Linked DNA regions of Homo sapiens: all the other regions are linked to region 2. Evidence: promoter capture Hi-C in 16 types of primary human blood cells and fetal thymus (Javierre and others, 2016). All regions are on one chromosome and are shown on one strand. Each heading gives the region's core, a stretch centred on a gene start or on the middle of the fragment in contact. The rest is flanking DNA. Distances are from core to core; before and after follow the strand shown. Region 1 overlaps HIKESHI (heat shock protein nuclear import factor hikeshi). Region 2 holds the start of SYTL2 (synaptotagmin like 2). Region 3 overlaps CCDC81 (coiled-coil domain containing 81). Region 4 overlaps LOC105369421 (a long non-coding RNA gene).

What was found. Contacts are between HindIII fragments. The CHiCAGO score rates a contact against its expected background, and 5 or more counts as called.
Region 1: a fragment that was not itself captured here is called in contact with the fragment with the promoter of SYTL2 in region 2 in 1 of 17 cell types (monocytes); the score reaches 6.3 in monocytes.
Region 3: a contact is called between a fragment that was not itself captured here and the fragment with the promoter of SYTL2 in region 2, in 1 of 17 cell types (neutrophils). The highest score is 5.5, in neutrophils.
Region 4: a contact is called between a fragment that was not itself captured here and the fragment with the promoter of SYTL2 in region 2, in 1 of 17 cell types (neutrophils). The highest score is 5.2, in neutrophils.

What each region holds. Positions count from the first base shown.
Region 1 is chr11:86,331,109-86,336,879 of GRCh38, reverse strand. The region is part of intron 2 of HIKESHI (heat shock protein nuclear import factor hikeshi); the gene reads right to left. It overlaps LOC105369421 (a long non-coding RNA gene), which reads left to right. Exons shown (of 5, transcript XR_007062826.1): 5 at 1-916. Among named protein-coding and RNA genes, the nearest start is that of HIKESHI, 32 kb to the right of the region's middle. The HindIII fragment of the contact is 1,063 bases long and covers 1,902-2,964 here.
Region 2 is chr11:85,808,707-85,814,029 of GRCh38, reverse strand. SYTL2 (synaptotagmin like 2) reads left to right here and starts at 2,889. Exons shown (of 20, transcript NM_206927.4): 1 at 2,889-3,076. RefSeq lists a silencer at 2,751-2,930. The HindIII fragment of the contact is 7,624 bases long and covers 1-5,323 here.
Region 3 is chr11:86,384,294-86,389,816 of GRCh38, reverse strand. CCDC81 (coiled-coil domain containing 81) reads right to left here. Exons shown (of 15, transcript NM_001156474.2): 2 at 3,705-3,766; 3 at 2,145-2,301. It overlaps LOC105369421 (a long non-coding RNA gene), which reads left to right. Exons shown (of 5, transcript XR_007062826.1): 2 at 1,944-2,050. Among named protein-coding and RNA genes, the nearest start is that of CCDC81, 12 kb to the right of the region's middle. The HindIII fragment of the contact is 3,566 bases long and covers 2,477-5,523 here.
Region 4 is chr11:86,349,288-86,354,782 of GRCh38, reverse strand. LOC105369421 (a long non-coding RNA gene) reads left to right here. Exons shown (of 5, transcript XR_007062826.1): 4 at 1,750-1,800. Among named protein-coding and RNA genes, the nearest start is that of CCDC81, 23 kb to the left of the region's middle. The HindIII fragment of the contact is 9,507 bases long and covers 1-5,495 here.

The sequences.
Region 1 (5,771 bases), core at 1,184-3,683, 520 kb before region 2:
GAAATCAGCTATTAATCTTAGCAAGGATCCTTGCATGTGATGAGTTACTTCTCTTGATGCTTTCAACATTCTCTCTTTACCTTTTGACAGTTTGATTATCGTGTGTCTTGGTGTAGTTTATCCTACTTGGAGTTTCTTGAGCTTCTTAAATGTGGTTAATGTTTTTCCTCAAATTTGAGAAGTTTCTGAGCATTATTTATTTAAATATTGTTTTAGTCTGTTCAGGCTGCTATAACAAAACACCATAAACTGGGTAGCTTATAAACATCGGAAATTTATTTCTCACAGTTCTGGAGGTTGGGAAGTCCAAGATCAAGGAACCGGCAGATTTGGTATCTGGTGAAGGACCATTTTCTGGTTCAGACAGTGCCTTCTCACTGTGTTCTCACGTGGTAGTAGGGCAAGTGATCTTCTTATTACTCTAAGAGTGGTAATCCCATTCATGAGGGCTCTACTCCCATGACCCAGTCACCATCCAAGTCCCTACCTCCCAATACCTTGGGGGTTAGGATTTCAGCATATAAATTTAAAAGACCTCATCATATAAAAAGACACAAACATTCAGACCAGAGCAAATATTCTTTCCAGCCCTCCCGCCTTTCCATATGTTACTCTCATTACACTGTGTCTGCTGTGCATGTTGGTGCACTTGAGGGTGTCTCACAGGTCTCTAAGGGTCTGCTCTTCAAACTGGATATTCCAATTAATTTATCTTCGACTTCACTGATTCTTTCTTCTGTCTACTCAATTCTGCTATCTAAGCCCTTTAGTGAACCATTCAGTTACTGTACTTTTCAGCTATAAACTCTGTTTAGTTCCTTTCTATAATTTCTATATTGATATTCTCTATTTGATGATGTATCATTCTTCTGGTTTCCTTTAGCAATTTGAGCATAATAAAGACAGCTTACTTAAAGTCTTTGCCTGTGCTTCCCTGGGGGAAGTTTCTGTTCGTTTCCTCTGTATAAGAGCCTTACTTTGTTTCTTTGTATGTTTCATAATTTTTTGTAGAAAACTGGACATTTTGAATATTACAATGTGACGACGCTATAAATCAGATGTTTCCACCTTCTAGGGGTTTGTTGTTGCTGTTTATTGTAGTTGTTTCCTCATTTAATGACTTATCTGAACTAATTTTGTAAAGTCTGTTTCTTTGTTATGTGTGGCCAGTGAAGTCTCTGTTCCATTAGTTAGTAGTCTGCTAGTGATTAGAAAGAAATTTCCTTAAACCTCTGCAACCAAAAAATTCTGCCAGTCTTTGCAGATGGGCTCTGCGTGTTGGGACATGCCTTTAGTATTCAGCCAGGCAGTTTATAACTCCACCTTAGTCTTCACTTCCTGCTTGTGCGGAGACTTAAAGTGAGCCAGAAGAGAGAGCTCTGGGTCTTCGCGGGTCTTTCCTGAGCATGCACAAAGCTCTGGGAATGCACGTACCCTTCTAGATTACCAAGAATATGTCAGAGAATTTCAAAGCCCTCATTCCCCAAAGCATCTCATTCCCAACCTTTCTGGTTAGTTTTGGTTTACTCCAACTGTTTTCCTTTGCCTCGGGCAACAGTAGCTAAAACATATGTCTGTAAATACTTTTAACAAACACCCCCAAGGTAGATACTTTTCCATGAAGAGTTCCAAGTTAGGTGACATAAAGGCAGACCTCTTTTTTTTTAAACAGTCTTCTAGCAAGCCACCAGACAGATGAAAACAAGTTAATTACAATTCTTTCTGAATTAGGTCTATCCTGCTCCCTATATCAGTACCAGGAATGGAGTCTGTTATTTTCAAGGCTATCACTGAGCTGAGAAGCAGATGGGACAAGGGTAGCCAAATGCCACAAAGCTCACTGTTCTTACTGAGATTCAGTGTATTTTCTTGATTAAATGTTCCCCTGATTGCTACAAGCTTTTGGTTAGTTACCAGAGTTCCAAAAAAGTTGATTCTGGGTCAGACACAGTTGCTCATATCCTGTAATCCCAACACTTTCAGAGGCTGAGGCAGGAGGACTGCTTGAGCCCAGAAGTTTGAGACCAGCCTGGGCAACATGGGGAGACCCCATCTCTACAAAAGTTAGCCAGGCGAGGTGGTGCATGCTTGTGGTCCTAGCTACTTGGGAGGTGGAGGTGGGAGGATCGCTTAGGCCTAGGAGATCGAGACTACAGTGAGCTGTGATCTTCTGACAGTGTTGTTGTTGCTTTTATGGAAGACTGGATTTTCTGGAGCTCCTTACTCTACCGTTTGATTTCTTTTAAATCTAGAATTATGCTAAAATCCAGAAAACATATCATTATCAAAGCATATCATCAAATAGATGCAAAAATAATAAATTATAAATCATAATACAAAGAAGAGCAAGCAAAATATATGACCTAGTCTTAATATAAAAAACAAATGTAAATTAGATCAAGTTCTTTAAAACACTGTTAACAGTAAATGCAGCAGCTAATTTTTTTTAAGACTCTTTCTCAAAGCATCCCTCCTCCATGTAAATCAAGAGCCTAACACAAAACACAACTCAGAGGAAAAATTCCTACAGGGAGCTAGTTCTTTATTCTCAGTATACAAGGAAAAGCAGTCACCATCATTTGTTATTTGCATCTAATGGAAACTTTACACACACACACACACACACACACACACACACACACATATTTTACAAAGAATGTTGAGAAGAATCAGGAAATAGTGGAAAACAACTTTATTAGATTTTTTCTAAGTATTTAAGTACAGCAAATCCAGATAGTCATTCCACATTTTCCTTGTTTTTAAGATATAGCTGAAATGGGCTATGTCCTGTGAATACAACTGCCCATCAACCATCATGGATAAACATGGAACACATGCGTCTTATGGAACACATCCATTTTATAAATTTCATAAGTCAGATATCTATTAATAAAGTTATAGCTTATGGTTGTATCTTGTTCTTTTTTTGGCATCTACATTGCCATAATATAATACCTGAAAGCTTGAAGTTTTGAAACCTTTAACGGCTCATAATTTGTTGAAGGATGGCTATCCTCTGATCTACATTTTGCAAAATATTTTCATTTTTAGATTTATAACCATTATTTAGAATGATCAAGCCAATTATTTTTTTTTTCATTCCTATACCTATTTCCTTCCAATCACTTCTCTATACACCCCTGCTTTCAGCATTTGTCTATTTATAAAACCATATCCAGTCTATTTTGGAACACAAATATAAGAGATAAAAGAATAGCAGAACACATCCTTTACTACTTGTCCATGACAAAATATTATGTGAGAAATTCCTTCTTCTTAAATGACTGAGTAGAATACCATATTTCTTTTCTTTTTTTTTTTTGTTTGTTTGTTGTTGTTGTTGTTGAGACAGAGTCTCACTCTGTTGCCCAGGCTGGAGTGCGGTAGGACGATCTTGGCTCACTGCAACCTCCGCCTCCTGGGTTCAAGCAATTCTCATGCCTCAGCCTCCCGAGTAGCTGGGATTACAGGCCTGTGCAACCACACCGGCTAATTTTCAAATTTTTAGTGCAGACGGGGTTTCACCATGTTGGCCAGGCCAATCTGGAACTCTTGACCTCAAGTGATCCACCCATCTCGGCCTCCCAAAGTGCTGGGATTACAGACATGAGCCACCGCACCCGGCCTCATATTTTCTCTTGATCCTTAAAAATACATTGTTCAATCATCAAATTTTTAGTTGAGAAAACTCAGATAATGAGATCTTATTTGAAGATTCATAGTAGGTAATTTTGCTTATATGATCCACTTTACCATCGTCATCAGTGTAGAATTTACCTTTCAGTATTCATTTTCTGATTTGTCTAATAATTGTGAAACTTCTTCCTCTGTCAATTTTCTTCTCTTTGCCATTATGAACAAAATATTTAAAAGTATGAATTTACATTCTGTTCAATAAAAGCTAAAAAGAGACCATAAAGATGGTGTCTCCAGTCTCCTTTTATATTACTTAAAAGGTGGCATAATCTTTTGGGCAATGCAACATGAAAATTGTAGGTTAATGCAATGACAAACCAAGGCCCACAGGCCAAATCGGTCCCACAACCTATTTTGTATGACGTGGGAGCTAAGAATGGTTTTCAAATATTTAAAGGGTTGTTTAAGAATAATATGCCACAGAGATCAAATGTAGCCCACAATGCCTACAATATTTTCTAACTGATCCTTCACAAAAAAGTTTGCCAACTTCTACTCTAGCTAATTCCAACATTTTTCTTTTTTTATTTTAGCCCCCTTTTTGTAAGTATAGTTTTGATGAGTACTGATAAAATAATTTCCTGGATGAAATAACAAAATGCTTCAATATATAGGTAAAGTAAGACCAGTAATATCCCCAAATGCTTCTTAGATTTACAAAGTGGTCCATATGGTAATTGCAAGATAAAATGAGTTTTATTCTATTAAAAAACATGTAAGTAAATGTTATCTCTATTCTTTATTTTTTTTTCCTCTCTGTTCTTTAAGACCTCTACAAAAGAATAAAACTCATGAAGTACCAATCCTTCTAATGGGTAAAAATGCTCAAAAGGGAAATTTAAAAATTAAAAGTCCACTGGTTGAGATGTCTGTAAGTGTGCATAGCAGCAAAGAGATGAGGACTAAAGAAAACAGTTACGGGCCGGGCACGGTGGCTCACGCCTGTAATCCCAGCACTTTGCGAGGCCGAGGCGGGCAGATCACAAGGTCAGGAGCTCGAGACCATCCTGGCTAACACTGTGAAACCCCGTCTCTACTAAAAAAAATAAAAATAAGTTAGCTGGGCATGGTGGCAGGCGCCTGTAGTCCCAGCTACTCGGGAGGCTGAGGCAGGAGAATGGCATGAACACAGGAGGCGGAGTGCCACTGCACTCCAGCCTGAGCGACAGAGCAAGACTCCGTCGCAAAAAAAAAAAAAAAAGAAAAGAAAACAGTTATGGCAAAAGGAAGGAATTCACTATGCAGTAGCATTTCACTATGATGACATAGCTAAAAAACTACACAGAAACAACTTAAATATGCCTGCTTGAAAGCATTCCTAGTATTGAATATACAAATTTAGAAATATGTATTTCTAAAAACTCCCTGCTTCATTTCTATTGATACCTAGACAAACCTGAAATTACATTTTCACTAATGTATATTCTAAGAGCTATGTGACTCTCAAAGGCTTATCAGTAATTTTACACTAGATAAAAATATAATTTATCTGATACCATAGTATGTCTGAAAGGTACTTAATGAAGCAAAGTATCTAAAGTCCATCACTGTCCTCTATAGAGCACAAAATAAAAGATATAAAACATCCCTATTCTCAAAGAGCTTACACCCTAATGTGGCGGGGGAGGGAGGGCAGTAACAGTCACTTAACCATTCTGAACTGGTTTCATTATCTGGGTAATTTCTTTTCTTTTTGAGACAGAGTCTAGCTTTGTTGTCCAGGCTGGAGTGCTGTGGTGTGACCTTAGCTCACTGCAACCCCTACCTCCCAGGTTCAAGTGATACTCCTGCCTCATATTCCTGAGTAGCTGAAATTACAGGTGTGTGCCACCATGTGCAGCTAATTTTTGTATTTTTAGTAGACATGGGGTTTCACAATGTTGGCCAGGCTGGTCTCGAACTCCTGTTCTCAAAGATGCGCCCGCCTCGGCCTCCCAAAGTGCTGGGATTACAAGCGTGAGCCACTGCACCTGGCCCTATCTGGGTAATTTCTAACATCCTTTCTAGTGCTGACATTCTATGATTTTACGAAAATATAACAACCATTTATTAAGTACCAACTGTGTACAAGGTAC
Region 2 (5,323 bases), core at 1,640-4,139:
CTAACAGAAGTTAAGTGACTTAGGCTGGGTGCAGTGGCTCACGCCCGTAATCCCAACACTTAGAGATGCTGAGGCGGGCAGATCGCTTCAGCTCAAGAGGTCAACATTGCGAAACCACGTCTCTACTAAGAATACAATAATTAACTGGGCGTGGTGGTGTGTGCTTGTAGTCCCAGCTACCTGGAAGGCTGAGGTGGGAGGATGGCTTGAGCCTGGGAGGTTGAGGCTGCAGTGCGCTGTGTTTGTGCCACTGCCTGGGCAACAAAGTGAGACCCTGCCAAAAAAGGAAGGAAGGAAGGAAGGAAGGAAGGAAAGGAGGGAGGGAGGGAGGGAGGGAGGAGACTTGTCTAAAGTCACCCAGAGAAAGAAGGAAATTAAGTGACTTGTCCAAAGTCAACCAGCGAGTTCTGTGGTAGAGCCAGGAGATACACCAAAGTCTGTGCATTTAACCTTACACCATGCTATCCCTACCCTCTTGCCTTCCCCTTCAATGTCAACCTAGAATTCTCTAAAGTTTAAGTGTCACTTATATGTAAACCATTTTGAAGGGTTCCTATGGGATAAGTGGAACAGGCCATTGCTGACTTGATATGATCGTGTTAACCAAGGCTTTTTCAGTGCACTGTATGTGCAAGGCATCATGCTAAACATGTGCATCTTCTTTTAATCTTCACAGTAGGCCTGAGAGAGCAGTGCAATTATTTTCTCTCTAACAAATGAGCAAACTGAAGCACAGGGAGGTTGAGTAATTGGTCTAAGGTCTTATTAGAAATTGACATTTCTAACAGCATTTGGATCTTGGCCAAGAGCTCTAAGATTTAGTCTCTGAGCCATACAAGATTTAGATGAATTGGGAGCCATAACAAGACCCTGCCTTAAAATTTCTCCCCCACTTGCCTGCCCCACAACCTGAAGCAAGGATCCTGTGACCCTCTCTAGCATTTAGGCATTGCTATTTGTTTCCAGGGGACGAGTGATACTGGGAACAGCATGTATTTAGTTCCTTCAAAGTCCTATGCCAGATGATACAAGGCACCCAGAGGTGAGCAAGACCCAGTGCCTGCCCTCCAGAGCTAGAGAGGGGCAGGAAGGGGATAACCAAGGCAGGTGCAATCAACAATAAAAGTGAAGTACCAAAAGCATCTGAGGTCACGCTACTCCCCTGCCTAAAATCATTCGCCAACAGCCATCACCAACAGGACACAGCCTGCTTCCCTCAGCAAGGCAGGTACAGCCACTCCTCCAACATCTGCCCACCTACCTCCTTAGCTTCATCTCTGCCTCATTGTCCCAAATCCTGTGCAATAGCCGTGACATATGACAGGCATCTCCATGTCTCTGCCTGCCTCTCTGTGCCCAGTCTTCTGTCACCCCTTCAATCTGACCTAATTTGTAGCCCTCCTTCAAGACCTACCTTGGTCACATTTGTATTTTTTATTGTCCCCCTCCTTCAGCGTAGTGACTCTACAACACTTTGTCAACCTATTATAACACTTACCCTAAAATGAAATTATTTACAAATTTGTTTCTTCAAAGGCAAGACCAGTGGCTTATTCCTCTTTTGCATGTGGCATGCTCACCCAGCACAGGGACACACCAGGCTCTCAAAGGCTGAAGGAAGCCAGAATACACATCTCTGCACAGTGCCAGGACTCTTGGGCCAGGCTAGCAGCCTGCACTGGGCACTAACTGAAGCCCTTGGGGATAAGTATTTGTAAGTTTGGGAGAAGGAAGACCTTTGGAAGAACCAAAGGCAGACCTGGGCCACCCTCAGTTAAATGGACAACACTAGTCCAGGAAATGATAAGGAAAAAGGCTTTAAGGTTCATCTCCTTCAGAGGTTTGCCTGGGCTGGCCCCATCATGGGTAACTTGTAAAAAATAGGTCGTGATACAATTTTTAAATTATTTTATTTATTTTTTTGAGACAGAGTCTTGCTCTGTCACCCAGGATGGGGTGCAGTGGTGCGATCTTGGCTCACGGCAGCCTCCACCTCTCGGGTTAAAGCGATTCTCCTGCCTCAGCTTCCTAAGTAGTTGGGACTACGGGCGCTCGCCACCACACCCAGCTAATTTTTCTTTTTTCTTTTCTAATTAGAACAGAGTTTTGCTATGTTGGCCGGGCTGGTCCCGAACTCCTGACCTCGGGTTATCCACCTGCCTCGGCCTCCCATAATGCTGGGATTACAGGTGTGAGCCACCGCGCCCGACCACAATATTGTATTTACTGTATTGCATTGTCTGCCTCCCTGCCACACAGCGTCTTCCAGGAGCTTACCAGTCCTCTGTGCATACCCCAGTAAGTAGCTCAGGCAGTGCATGACGCCCTCACCTTTCTCTAGGTATTATTGTATTTTAAAGCATCACTTCATTTAGTCCTCTCAACAACTTTTTTCCCCCCTTCTTCTATTTCACATGTGAGGAAATTGACGTCCCGAGGGTTAAAGCAAGTTACCCCATGACCGGGCTCCATACCCTCCGCGCCCCTTTCCCTGCGCGGTGGCTGTCCCTTCTCGGAGTGCAGAGGCTCCTAGTGCTCCACACTCTCGGGCTCCAAGGCCCCCTAACGCGCCGTGATAAAAATAATAATAACAATAACAACAGTGCTGCTTTATTTGCACAGAAAACAGGTTGTTTCGGGGCAAGGTACACTTGAGAAGGAGGCTAGGAACCGGAGAGAAGCAGCAGGCGGGGGCGGAGGGCGAAGGGAGGGAAGGGGAGAGGGCAGGGGCTGGCAGGCGCTGTGTGCCGGGCGAGGAGGCCGGGGCGGGCCGGGGCGGGGAGCGGGCGAAGCGCCATTGGCCCGAGCACCCGGGACCGGCCCCACCGCACCGCCCGCCGGGGGCGGGGGTAGCGGGGAGGGACTCGCGCACGCCGCTCTGCGTTGACAGTGCCGGGCGACACCCGGGCCGTGCCGCCAGCGTCCGTCGGGAGAGTGAAGGCTCGCAACGCCTTGCCCGGGGGAAGGTAACGCGCCGCGCCCGGGGCTGCGCGGTTTGCACCGCCAGGCCGAGGGCTGGGGGCCAGAAGACAAGAGAGACGGCGAGGCGCGCTCCCTGCCCGGCAGCGACTCGGAGGTGCGCACTCGGGTTCCAGTCTCTACTTGGCCCACTCGCTGTGTTACCTCGGGCAACTTTGTTTCCCTCTCTTGGTCTCTGCTTCCTCCTCTGTTAAGTGAGGGAGGTGGTGTAGAATGTTGTTCCTTAGTCTAACCAGTTCTAAAATGGGAACTGCGTTTTGGCACGGGGAAAGCTCCTTTCCTCAGTTTCCCACCTACTCCAGAGCCACCTCCGCTGCCCAGGCGGCCAGGAAGCTGGGATGCCCGGGTAGGCGAGGGTTCTGCTGAGCTATCGCGTTTTCTAGGGCTTTCAGGGACTGACCTGGGCTTGGGGCTGGGTGCTGGGGAGACCTGGCTGCAGAGTAACTGCCCCCAGATTGCTCAGGTGCAGAAAGGTAGGAGCGTCAGCACCTGTTTACAGGTGGGGTGTTGGGAAGGGCCGGCCAGGGGATGATGATTTCTCCTTTGAAAATAAGACGTGTTTTGGAATTCTCTTCCATACCCACACCTCGTCCCACGGCGAGCTATAAACTACACGAGTGGGCTTTATCATCCTTTGAAGTGGAAAAGCGACTGTTTTTAGCGTCTAAGACACAGGGCTCCACCAGCATATAGGAAGTGGGTCTCTCTTTCTCTGCACCCATCCTGCCGCGTCTTCCCTTTCTTTCCTCCTCTCTTTATAAATCCCCTTTGACCTTGAGGGGCTCCACTTCCTGCCTTAATGAAAAGTTCTTCTTTTCATTTAGTGCTGGTTTGTGACCAGCAGCCTCCAGGGCTTTGGGCGCAGGGTTGAGATAGAAGCCTAGATAAGAACAGGCTATGAATCACCCTGTCAGCCCCCTGAGCCACACAGCCCGGCAGGGATGTGCAGAGGAAGCCCGGTGGGGCTTCAGACAGATAGACCCTGGAAGGTGGGGTGGATGCAAACTGCCATCCAGCTTCCCGTCCCCTTGTTGGCAGCCATTCCCCACCAGGATGGTGACCCCTGCTGTCTGCTGGATGGAGCAGCCAGATAGAGTAGGATGATTGAAAGGAGCTGAGGACTTGGCTGGATTTCTATGGAAGGTCTCCAGCATTTCCCTTCCCTCACTTTCCTCCACCCCTGAAGTTCTGCCCCTTCTCACCCTTAGTGTGGTATCCAGGTGAAATCAGATTGCAGAACCCATCAAGAGCAGCTAGGAAGGAGAAGAGGTGTGGGGACGGCAGCAGGGCAATGTTGACTGCTGTTTAGTGGGCACTTACTATGGGCCAGACACTTCTTTGTATGTAATATATCCTTAATTCTCACAAAGCCACATGAGGGGTGATGTACTATACCCTATTTTATAGGTGAGAAACAGGCTCAGAAAGATTGCTTCCTTTAGTCACTTAGCTAGGAAGTAGCATAGCTGGAATTCAAATCCAATCTCTGATTCTAAAACCTGTGTTCTTTACACTGTCTTTGTGCTCCTTAAGTAAGAGCAAGCTGGAATAAGGAGAGCAAAAATGTCTAACATTGTGTTCTCACCAGGTGTCAGGCACTATGCAAAACATCTTAGAGCTATTATGTCATTTATGGTGCAGGAGTTTCCGTTATTCTGGAGGTAATCTGTGACTGCCTTAGCCTCTCAGCAGCAGTACTGTTCTAGAAGGCCTACCCTAATCCTGCCCAGCTGCTAGTGCGTGGGTGGGGCAGGGCCCTGTTTGCTTTATCCTAGAGGTGGTTTGGGGTCTAATGAAAGATTGATTGTCCACATCTGACCCGTTAGCCCTAACCGTTGGCTGGTGAATGATTCCACTGTCCCCTAAGAGGCCTTTTTCAGGTTTTGCTCAATAAACATTTGTGGAATGAATGAATTAGCACCTTGTGCAGAGTGGTCTGCTGCCTTGTAGAAATGTGAGGCAGCCTAGGGGAAGCCCAGGTTCCACCATCTTCAAAACCCAGATGCTAGTCTAGGTGTTTCTCCTCTTTGGGCAAGGGAGGTAGGGTGAACTGTGCCTGTATAGGCTTCCAGAGCTCCCTGGAAATATGTTTGCTTGTCACCTGTTTTACAAAGAATTTTTAAACATACAGTAGATGAAGAAAAATGTGGCTTTTTTTTTTTTTAAATTAAGAGGAAAACTTACTTGGTATTAATGAGGTTGTCACTCTCTCAAAAGTTGGGGGGATAAGATTATAATGTTTGTCTTAGGGCTTACCAAACTTTTCCATAGAAGATCCTGCAATGGAAAAGAAGACCAACACATGCTCCTGTGCTTATGCAATTTTTTTCATTTGATTTCATAA
Region 3 (5,523 bases), core at 3,010-5,509, 570 kb before region 2:
TATATATTAATTATCTATGCTAGATTTAAAAGAACTATGTCTTACTAATATTTAAAAACCACTATAAAATGTTTGATTAGTTACTGATATGGTCTGGATTTGTGTCCCTGCCCAAATCTCATGTCTAATTGGAGGAGGGGCCTGGTGGGAGGTGATTGGGTCATGGGAGTGAATTTCCCCCTTGCTGTTCTCATAATAGTGAGTGAGTTCTCATGAGATCTCATGGTTTAAAAGTGTGTGGTGCCTCCCCATTTCATGCTTGCTCTCTCCTGCTCCGCCATGGTAAGATGTGCTTGCTTCCCCTTTGCCTTCTGCCATGATTGTAAGTTTCCTGAGGCCTCTTAGCCATGCTTCCTGTTAAGCCTGCAGAACTATGAGTCAATTAAGCCTCTTTTCTTCATAAATTACCCAGTCTTAGCTAGTTATTTATAACAGTGTGAGAACAGACTAATACAGTTACCTAGTTAATTAATGATGAAGAATCATAACCCCAAAGCTAAACTGTAGACAGAAATTTTTCTTTGGGGGTTTTAAATTTTTATTTATTTCCTTATTTATCTTATTATTATTATTATTATTTTGCAGCCTTCAACTCCTGGGCTGAAGTGATCCTCTTGCCTCAGCCTCCCAAGTAGTTGGGACTGGTGGTGTGAACCATCATGCCCGTCTAAGTTTTTTAAATAATTTTTTGTAGAGGCAGGAGCTTGCTATGTTGCCAAGGCTGGTCTTGAACTTCTGGCCTCAAGTGATCCTCCCTCCTTAGCCTCCAAAATTCTGGGATTGCAAGCATGTGCCACCATTGCATGTGCCACCATGCCCGGCCTAGAATTATTCTTTTGAACTAATTCAGTCATATATGTCTAATTCTGAAATTGCCTCACCCAGTAAAAAATATAATTTTAGATCTAAACTACTTTTTTGGACTACAGTACAAGATCCAAGATAGAAAATGAGCTTTAATTTTAATGCACAGATGTTTTTGCAAAAATGTTAGCTTTATTTTCATTTTCTTTAATAGGTTTTTGATGAAATAGGATATATTTCTTCTGACATAAAACTCTAGGTATTTCTTTTTGTTCCCATGAAAGGGAGAAACAAAGAAAAGAAAAAAAAATTCTAGGTAAAAATAGCTGAAAAGTTCATCAAGCCCACCATACTGAATATATACCTAAGAAATTCTAAGTATGGTTTGTTGACATTTGTTTTTCTAATATATCATTCTTTTGAAAGTAGAAAGTTACTCAAGTGACTCTGAAAATTAACTTTCAGGAACATTATCTTAGAGGACAGTTTCAGCCTTTTCACCTGTTGCCATCGGAGATAGATTGTCTCCATTTATCCAGGAGTGAGTCTGATGCTGGGGGCGGGGACAATCAGGAAGGTCGAAAGGAACACAGCCAGGAATCAGGAAGTATGCACCCAAAGGCTGCTAAGTAACCAAGGGAGGTGTTACGAAGCCCACACACTAAAGCTGGATGGAAGCAGTCTGTGGCAGGGATTATGCCTATTTTGTTTACCACTATATCTCAAGCACCTGGAACAAGGTCTGACACATAGTTGGCTCTCAATAAATATTTGAAGAAGGAAGGAAGGAAGGAAGGAAGGAGGGAAGGAGGGAAGGAGGAAAGGAGGGAGGGAGGGAGGTTGGCTTTAGGGTATGCGAAAGGTATATAAGGTATGCATTAAGTCTTTATAGAATTATTCAACTTCTAACTTTTAAATTTTAATGATTTGGATTATACATATGATAGAAAGACAGTTATCTTTTTGACAGCTGATACTGACTGTAGTTCTCCCAACCAGAGATCCTAATTAACTTTCTCTTCTTTGTAACCACTTTTAATTTCTTAGGATCTGAAATAAAGGGCTTACAGCTCTGTGGTGTGGCTTTTACATAAATTTTCCTTTACGTTACATCAGGTTTTTTCACTCCTTCCTCTTAGGTTACTGGGGTTTAAAATGGCCTTCAGGAAGACTCTATTATTTTTCCACTTTGGCCCCTCCCTCTGCCAAAAGCACCTTGTGAAAAGTGAGTTCCTCAAATAAGAAGGTAAGACAGCAGCACTGGCTACGCTTTGCCCTTTCATTTTTTATCCCCAGGACAGTAACCTTCTGGGAAAATCCTACATATCAGAATTATTTACCAGGAGTATATACTTTGTTTTGTTTGAGTCCATGAATCTGCACTAGCTTCTCCACCATGATAAACACAGGCCTCTGGATTAAGATAAATTTGTTGTTTCCCACCTCAAGCTTTTGTCTTATGAAAGTGAAAGTTCCAAATGCTGGAATCTGAACCCCCTGAAAGGAAAAAACAAAACAAAACAGAATTCATTGAAGGAGTGAAGAAAAAATAATCCTTAATATTATTATCTAAAAAACACGAAGAGAAGTAAGCTTAGGCCTTAAAAATTCAGTGATCTCTAGGACTCTTCAGAGCTATAGCATTTTATAATTCTAAGTTTTCAAATAAGCTTAGTATAAAATGTAATACATTGGTCCATGATGATTTGCAGACATCAGATCGCTCATCTCTGTATCATCAAAAGGCTAAGAAATTGGTGTGAATGCCATAGCATCTTTTAATCTTTAACCCAGATTACTCCTGTCCTAAATTGTGTGACATTTTAAATTTTAATCATCTGCCATTAGAGGAATTTAAGAGGGCATGAGAATCTCTGCTTTCTCATTCCTACTTTTAGATTTTATGTCTGCCACAGCAGACAACCAGCATCCAAATCATATGCTGCAATGTAGTGATCCTGGCTGATGAGTAGAAGCAAATGTTTTTGCCTCTCATACTGGGTTTCTGTCTCCCTGGAGATATCATTCATCAAGAACTACAAACTCAAATGCCTACAGGAGCCAAAAAAGAAAGCAAGAGAGTGAAAGTAGCCAGCCAGGGAATGTGATGGCTATGGACTGCACACCCCGTCTAAAGGGGAGAGCACATCTTGAGCTCCAAATGTGTCACCACGTAGCAATGGAAGACTAGTACTGTTAGATCTGCTGATTTTTCAATGAAAGGGAGGGAAAAAATCCAAAACATTATATGATTTTTCCCAAGTTTAAGTGCTGATAACAAATTCAAATTCTCAAACAAAACAAAATAAATTTGAAGTATGAATTCTGCCCAAGAGCTCTCATAGTAGGACCTCTGAATGGGGTATAAAAGTTCCACAACTTCCCAGCTTCCCCCAAGCTCATCCCCAAATCTCTGTCCAGTTCTATGGCATCTAAACCCAAGACTTAACAGGAGGGAACAGTCCAGCCCTAGGCAAAGTTTCTCATTTTGGCAAGTCTTCTATTTCAGTTAAAATCCATTCCCTGCAAGGAGGCAAGACAAGAAGCGTTATATCCTTCTATAGCTATGCCAGGAACTATCAGATCACAGACAAACAGAACTCATCTAGTTTCCTTACACACACCCAGGCTGATCAGCACTACACTCTGTAACACTAGAAGAGCAGAACTTACAAATTCATTACCTAAAAATAAAATTCATGTTTGTTAAATCTATTACCCACAAGTCCGAACATGAGCATCAAAAAACATAGGACTGAAAGTTAAACAGGATGGCTCTAAAGTCTACTGCCCTGCTCCCAGCAACATTATATAAGACTATGAAGGAAGGATCCTTTAGATGCCTACATTAAAATTAATAAATTAATTTATTAATAAATTAATAAATTAATAAATCTTACCTTGTGCAGGGTTAACTGCCGTCTCACAAATTCTGATACATTCCCCCAGATAATAGAGACTTCTGAAATTCAAAAGTAACCAGAAATTATTCAATTTATATGCGCACCCATGTGACAGTATCTTAGTGCTAATAAATAAAAATGTAAATATGAAATGTGGAAGCAAATGACATTAATTCCTGATTAATTTAGAATTAACAAAAAACAAGGCCATTCCCAAAAGTTAATTTTCTTGGTAACTAAGGCTTACTCCCTTAAGTTCAGAAGATGTGATTTAAAATAATAATAATAATACATTTTTAAAGAAAATATTTCTACAGCAAAGGGAACTCTGTCACACCCTTTTCTTTATTCTGTAAAGAGAGTTAATCAAGTATAACCCAACCTTTTCTTAATGACCCAGCAACCGTTTATCGGGTGTCTATTCTGTGCCATCTGATTAATAAGAACGTTCATTCTCACACCATTCCACAACACAGGAATAAGGCAAAAGGCCACTAAGGCGTGAAAGGCTGTTGTGTGTACATTAACTTTTCCTACACTTCTATTTTTGCTAAATCCTCAAATCTGCATTTTATTCTCATTTTTCACTGCTAAGCTACCAGCTGTCACTTGCTCTACTAGTACTCTGTGGGCTCCTGGACCAGTCATAATTCATTGCTTCTTATCTACTGTGTTCTGGAAATAACAAATACTAATAGTATGTCTAAAATAACTTTTTTTTTTTTGAGACAGGGTATCACTCTGTCACCCAGGCTGGAGTGCAGTGGCGTGATCTCGGCTCACTGCAACCTCCGCCTCCCGGGTTCAAACGAGTCTCCTGCCTCAGCCTCCCGAGTAGCTGAGATTACAGGCGCCAGCCACCATGCCTGGCTAATTGTACTTTTAGTAGAGACAGGGTTTCGCCATGTTGGCCAGGCTGGTCTCCAACTCCTGACCTCAGGTGATCCACCCGCCTCGGCCTCCCAAAGTGCTGGGATTACAGGCATGAGCCACCATGCCCAGCCTCAAATAATAATTTTTTAAAAACACACATTTGAGTAGGACAAGGAGCTTTACTTTGAATTAATGCATACACTTGGCACTATCAATTTTGACTGACTGGAGGAAAGCCTTCCAAGTTTATCTTCTTGTTCTGAGCTGTGTTCCAAACAAGTGTGGTAGAAAAATAGGTAGTTGCCAATAATGAAAGTGTTAATGTATGATATGAACCTATACTGTAGTATGACTAATATTTCAAAGTCTAGAAAATTATATCTGTGTTAACATCGCCCTTCCAGACCTAACCATGTGTTTATCAAAGATACTTTCCAGTTAAGAACTCTCTGCAAATCAAGACTGTTACGTTTTAATTCTCAAAATAAAAAATCAAGAACAGTGACATTAACAAACTTGCCATTTAGGGACATAGATGCAGCTGGTGACAAAAGCCCAATCCTTTTTCCACTTTGGAAACTGCTTGTTTTATTGGTTTATTGGTTTATCTTTTTTCTAACAATTTAAACCACTAGCTAAAACACGGAGAGTGCAATCTTTTAATTCTGGTATATCAGAGTTATAAATATTTTTATTAATAGGCCAGGAAAGGGGCAGGTTTGGTGGATGAGAAGTAGCAATGACTTTTATGACTATCTGGGAACAAGTTTGGTGATGGAAACTCACTCACCCATTAATAAAATTAGGGCTGCAAGCTACAGTGAGCACGAGGGCCAAGATTCTGCCCCTCATTAATCACTTTCTATAATCAGGCATTTCCCTTACTCTGCCCACCCTACCTTGTTCCCCACTCCTCCCCACCCCCACAGCCCATAGATTCTAC
Region 4 (5,495 bases), core at 2,347-4,846, 540 kb before region 2:
TATTGTATATTTTAAAATATCTGAAAGAGTGAAATTGGAATGTTCCTAACACAAAGAAATGACAAATGCTTGAGGAGATGGTAAAAAAATTTTGGAGGCTTAATATAAAATGGTAGTTCAGGGTTGCTTTTTAGACAGGTTTTTGCTCTGGCACTCAGGCTGGAGCACAGTGTTGCGAATATGGCTCACTGCAGCCTCAACCTCCTGGGCTCAGGCAATCCTCCTATCTCAGCCTCCCAGGTAGCTAGGACCAGAGGCACATGCCATCATGCCTGGCTAATTATTTTATTTTTTGTAGAGACAGGGTCTCACCACGTTGGTCTCGAACTCCTGGGCTCAAATGATCCTCTTGCCTCTGCCTCCCGAAGTGTTGGGATTATAGGTATGAGCCACTGTGACCAGCCAGGCTTGCATTTTTATTTTTGACCATAAATATTCTTTCATTTAAAAATAATTTTTCAGGCTGGGCGCAGTGGCTCATGCTTGTAATCCCAGCACTTTGGGAGGCCAAGGCGGGCGGATCATGAGGTCAGGAGATCGAGACTATCCTGGCTAATGCGGTGAAACCCCGTCTCTACTAAAAATACAAAAAAATTAGCCGGGCGTGGTGGCGGGCGCCTGTAGTCCCAGCTACTGGGGAAGCTGAGGCAGGAGAATGGCGTGAACCCGGGAGGTGGAGCTTGCAGTGAGCCGAGATCATGCCACTGCACTCCAGCCTGGGCGACAGAGCGAGACTCTGTCTCTAAATAAATAAATAGTAATTTTTCACTTTTAAAGTAAAATTTATCTACTCATAATTTGACTACTTTTAGGTCCTAGTTTTTCATAGAATGAGTTAGGAAGGAAGGACTCCCTCTCCTAACTTCTGAAAGATATTGTAGAGAATTGGAAAAATTTCTTCCTTAAATGTTTGGTGGAATTCAGCAGCAAACCTATCTTGGCCTAATGCTTTCTGTTTGGGAAGATTAGCTATTGATGCCATTTCTTTAGTAGATATAGTCCTATTCAGATTGTCTATTCTTCCTTTTCAATTTCTCCCTAGTGACCCTCAGCTTTTGAAGGATTTTCGTCTCCACTGTCTTTTTCATTTTTTCCCAAACTCCAAGTACCCAAGCCACAAGAAAATAAAATTCCAAAGAAGATGAGGCCGAGGCAGGGGGATCAGGAGTTCGAGACCAGCCTGGCCAACATGGTGAAACCCCGTTTCTACTAAAAATACAAAAATTAGCTGGGCGTGGTGACTCATGCCTATAATCTCAGCTACTCAGGAGGCTGAGGCATGAGAATTGCTTGAACCCAGGAGGTGGAGGTCGCAGTGAGCCAAGATCGCGCCACTGCACTCCAGCCTGGGCAACAGAGTGAGACTCCATCTCAAAAAATAAAATAAAATTCCAAACAAGAAACAAATGCTTTGTTATACTATGCAACCCTATTGTTTATGCAGTTCTCTTTAGGCTTTTAGAAATATAATACATACCTAGTGTACAAATAGTTATCAGACATTTTATCATTCAAAAGCAGCCCCAAAGGAATATGACAATTTTAATTGATCTTTGATGCTGGTATGTGGTGGGTTACTTGGCCAGTGAGTGACCCTGGCTGATATCAAATATGATATACTTCAACAATTTGATTTCCAATACTTATTGAGCACTAAGAATGTATCAGGCATTATTCTAAAAGTTTTAGGTAAGTTTATTCCTTATAACAAACTTCAAAGATATATACTGTGGTCAATTCATTTTACAGATGAAGAAACTATGACACAGAGAGGCGAAGTAACTTGATAAGATCAAAACAGTAAGTAAATGGTATAGCCAAATTTTGAACACAAGCTACCTGACTCTAGAGGCCATAACCTTATCCACTACACTATAATGCAATTTTGTGGTTCTCTGTGCATCACTGAAGAAAAAACAGATGCTCACATAATTTTTTCTTATTTTGTTTCTTTGGAAAAATAAAGCCAATTGGCTAATGCTATTGAGATCTAAGAAAACTTCTGTTCTTGCTTAGAAATGTTAGTTCTTTTATCCATTAAACACACACAAAAAAAGCTGAATTTAGTGATGTCTCATATTATCTCATACATATCTGTCCACCACAGGCTCTAAATGGAAAAGGAGAAATAGCAGGTCATGAAACTGTTTTAATGAATGTTTAAGTCAGAAAATGTATATAAATGACTTTTATTCCATATTTAAACTTAAATTTTTATATAGGTTTTAAGTGTTATCTCTTTTCCACAAATTATTTATTACAAAAAGCTCAAGTTGTGTTTAACAAAATGGACTTATAACAAATGTCTTTTAAAAGATTCTAAATTTGTTAATTCTTAAGCTACAACCATAAGGACTTCCTGTGTCAGCTTCATTTGTGATTTCCAGATCCTTAGTTAACTTTAAGGATATGAATATTCTTTTGTAAGTAACCTTGGAAAACTGGACAATTTTATGACATATGTGCTTTAATAACTGGTGTAGCTGTTAGCTACCAGGTTAAAAAGGATGTATAGATGGCTTTATGTTGATGTGAATACTTGTTTTGAAGATATTTTTTAAATGTGGATAGGTAATGGGATGTGTATGCAAGGTAATGAATTTTATTTATCTAAGTAAAAAAGAATTATTTTACCTTAAGGAGAGTCTGGTTATGCTAGCCTAGAAGAGTATTTTTTTATTATTATACTTTAAGTTTTAGGGTACATGTGCACAACGTGCAGGTTTGTTACATATGTATACCTGTGCCATGTTGGTGTGCTGCACCTAGTAACTCATCATTTAGCATTAGGTATATATCCTAATGCTATCCCTCCCCACTCCCCCAACCCCACAACAGGCCCCAGTGTGTGATGTTCCCCTTCCTGTGTCCATGTGTTCTCATTTTTCAATTCCCACCTATGAGTGAGAATATGCGGTGTTTGGTTTTTTGTCCTTGTGATAGTTTGCTGAGAATGCTGGTTTCCAGCTTCATCCACGTCCCTACAAAGGACATGAACTCATCATTTTTTATGGCTGCATAGTATTCCATGGTGTATATGTGCCACATTTTCTTAATCCAGTCTATCATTGTTGGACATATGGGTTGGTTCCAAGTCTTTGCTATTGTGAATAGTGCTGCAATAAACATACGTGTGCATGTGTCTTTATAGCAGCATGATTTATAATCCTTACAATGAACTCAAACAAATTTACAAGAAAAAAACAAACAACCCCATCAAAAAGTGGGTGAAGGATATGAACAGACACTTCTCAAAAGAAGACATTTACGCAGCCAAAAAACACATGAAAAAATGCTCATCATCACTGGCCATCAGAGAAATGCAAATCAAAACCACAATGAGATACCATCTCACACCAGTTAGAATGGAGATCATTTAAAAGTCAGGAAACAACAGGTGCTGGAGAGGATGTGGAGAAATAGGAACACTTTTACACTGTTGGTGGGACTGTAAACTAGTTCAACCATTGTGGAAGTCAGTGTGGCGATTCCTCAGGGATCTAGAACTAGAAATACCATTTGAAGAGTATTTTTTAAACTTAAGAGTATTCAGGCCGGGCGCGGTGGCTCACATCTGTAACCCTAGCACTTTGGGAGGCCGAGGTGGGTGGATCGCTTGAGGTCAGGAGTTCGAGACCAGCCTGGCCAACATGGTGAAACCCCATCTCTACCAAAAATACAAAAATTAGCCAGGCATGGTGGCAGACACCTGTAATCCTAGCTACTCAGGAGGCTGAGGCCGGAGAATCACTTGAACTCAGGAGGGCTGAGATCACACCACTGCACTCCAGCCTGGGAGACAGAGTGAGATTTCATCTCAGAAAAAAAGTATTCAGAGAGTGTAGAAGTTCTGAGGAGTAAACTGTATTTGACAAGTTAGGGGTTGGAAAGGATCAATAAATGTGTCAAAATTTTTGACGAAGCTGGTTAAATGTGATGGATGTATTCACAGGAAGAAAGGCTTATGAAGCCATTACTACATATTGTTAAATAGAAGACAAGTAACAAGAGTAAAACTATAATCTGGATTTTCTTTCTGATAAAACAGCAAAGCTATCTCTGGTGAGATAACAAAGATTTCTTCTATCACTGTAACATTCTATCACTAAGCATTTTGACATATTAAGTCATTTTTTAAAAAAGCTAAAATACTAATTTGGAAAAACTAAAATACCTAATAATCCTAGTCACATATTCTTTTATCTTTTATGTTTGTGCACCAAAATTAACTTGATATGGTTCAAATGTAGACTAACGGTTCAACAAATGATGTTGGGAAAACTGGATATTCACACGCAAAAGAATGTGCATATTCATTTACCATTCACAAAAATTAACTCAAGATGAATCAAAGACCTAAATGAAAGAGATAAAACTATAAAACTCTTAGAAGAAAACACAGGAGTCAGTCTTCACAACCTTGAATTAGGCAATCGTTTCTTAGATATAACACCAAGAACAGAAACAAGAAAAGAAAAACAAAGATAAACTGAATTACATCAAAATTAAAAACTTTTGTACTGCAAATGATATCAACAAGAAAGTGAAAAGATAACTCACAGAAGAAAATATTTGCAAATCCTATTTTTAAGAGACTTGTATCTATAATAAACTCCTAGCCAGGCACAGTGGCTCATGCCTATAATCCCAGCACTTCAGGGGGCTGAGGTGTGTGGATCCCTTGAGCACAGGAGTTCAAGACCAGCCTGGACAACAGAGTGAGACTAGATCTCTACAAAAAATACCAAAAAAAAAAAAATTAGCTGGGCATGGTGGTGCGCACTTCTAGTCCCAGCTACTCGGGAAGCTGAAGTGAGAGTATCACTTGAGGCTGGGAGGTCGAGGCTGTAGTGAACCGTGATCGCACCACTGCACTCCAGTCTAGGCAACAGAGGGAGATCCTGTCTCAAAAAATTGAAAAGAAAAAAGATAAAAAGAAATGAAGTACAGATACATGCTACAACATGGAATAATCTTGAAAACATTATGCTAAGTGAAGGAAGCTAGTCACAAAAGACCACTCTCTCTGATTCCATTTATATAAAATATCCAGAAAAGGCAAATCCAGACACAAAAAGATTAGTGGTGGCTTAGGGATACTAGAAGCTGGGAGATGGGGATTAACTACTAATGGATATGAGGCTCCTTTTGGAGGAATAAAAATTAGATTGTGATGACATTTGCACAAATCTGAGACTAAACTAAAAAGCATTCATTCATTCAATTGAGACAAGGTCTCTGCTGTTGCCCAGGCTGGTCTTGAATTCCTGGGCTCAAACAATTCTCTCACTTCAGGCTCCAGAGTAGCTGAGATTACAGCTGTGCACCACTGCACCTGGCTCTTTAAATGGGTTAACTGTAAATGGGTTAACTGTGTGGAATATGAATTATATCTCAATAAATCTTTTAAAAATTAAATTCTTTAATTTAAAAAAAATTTTTTTTTTTGAGACTGAGTCTCATTCTGTTACCCAGACTGGAGTGCAGTAGCACCA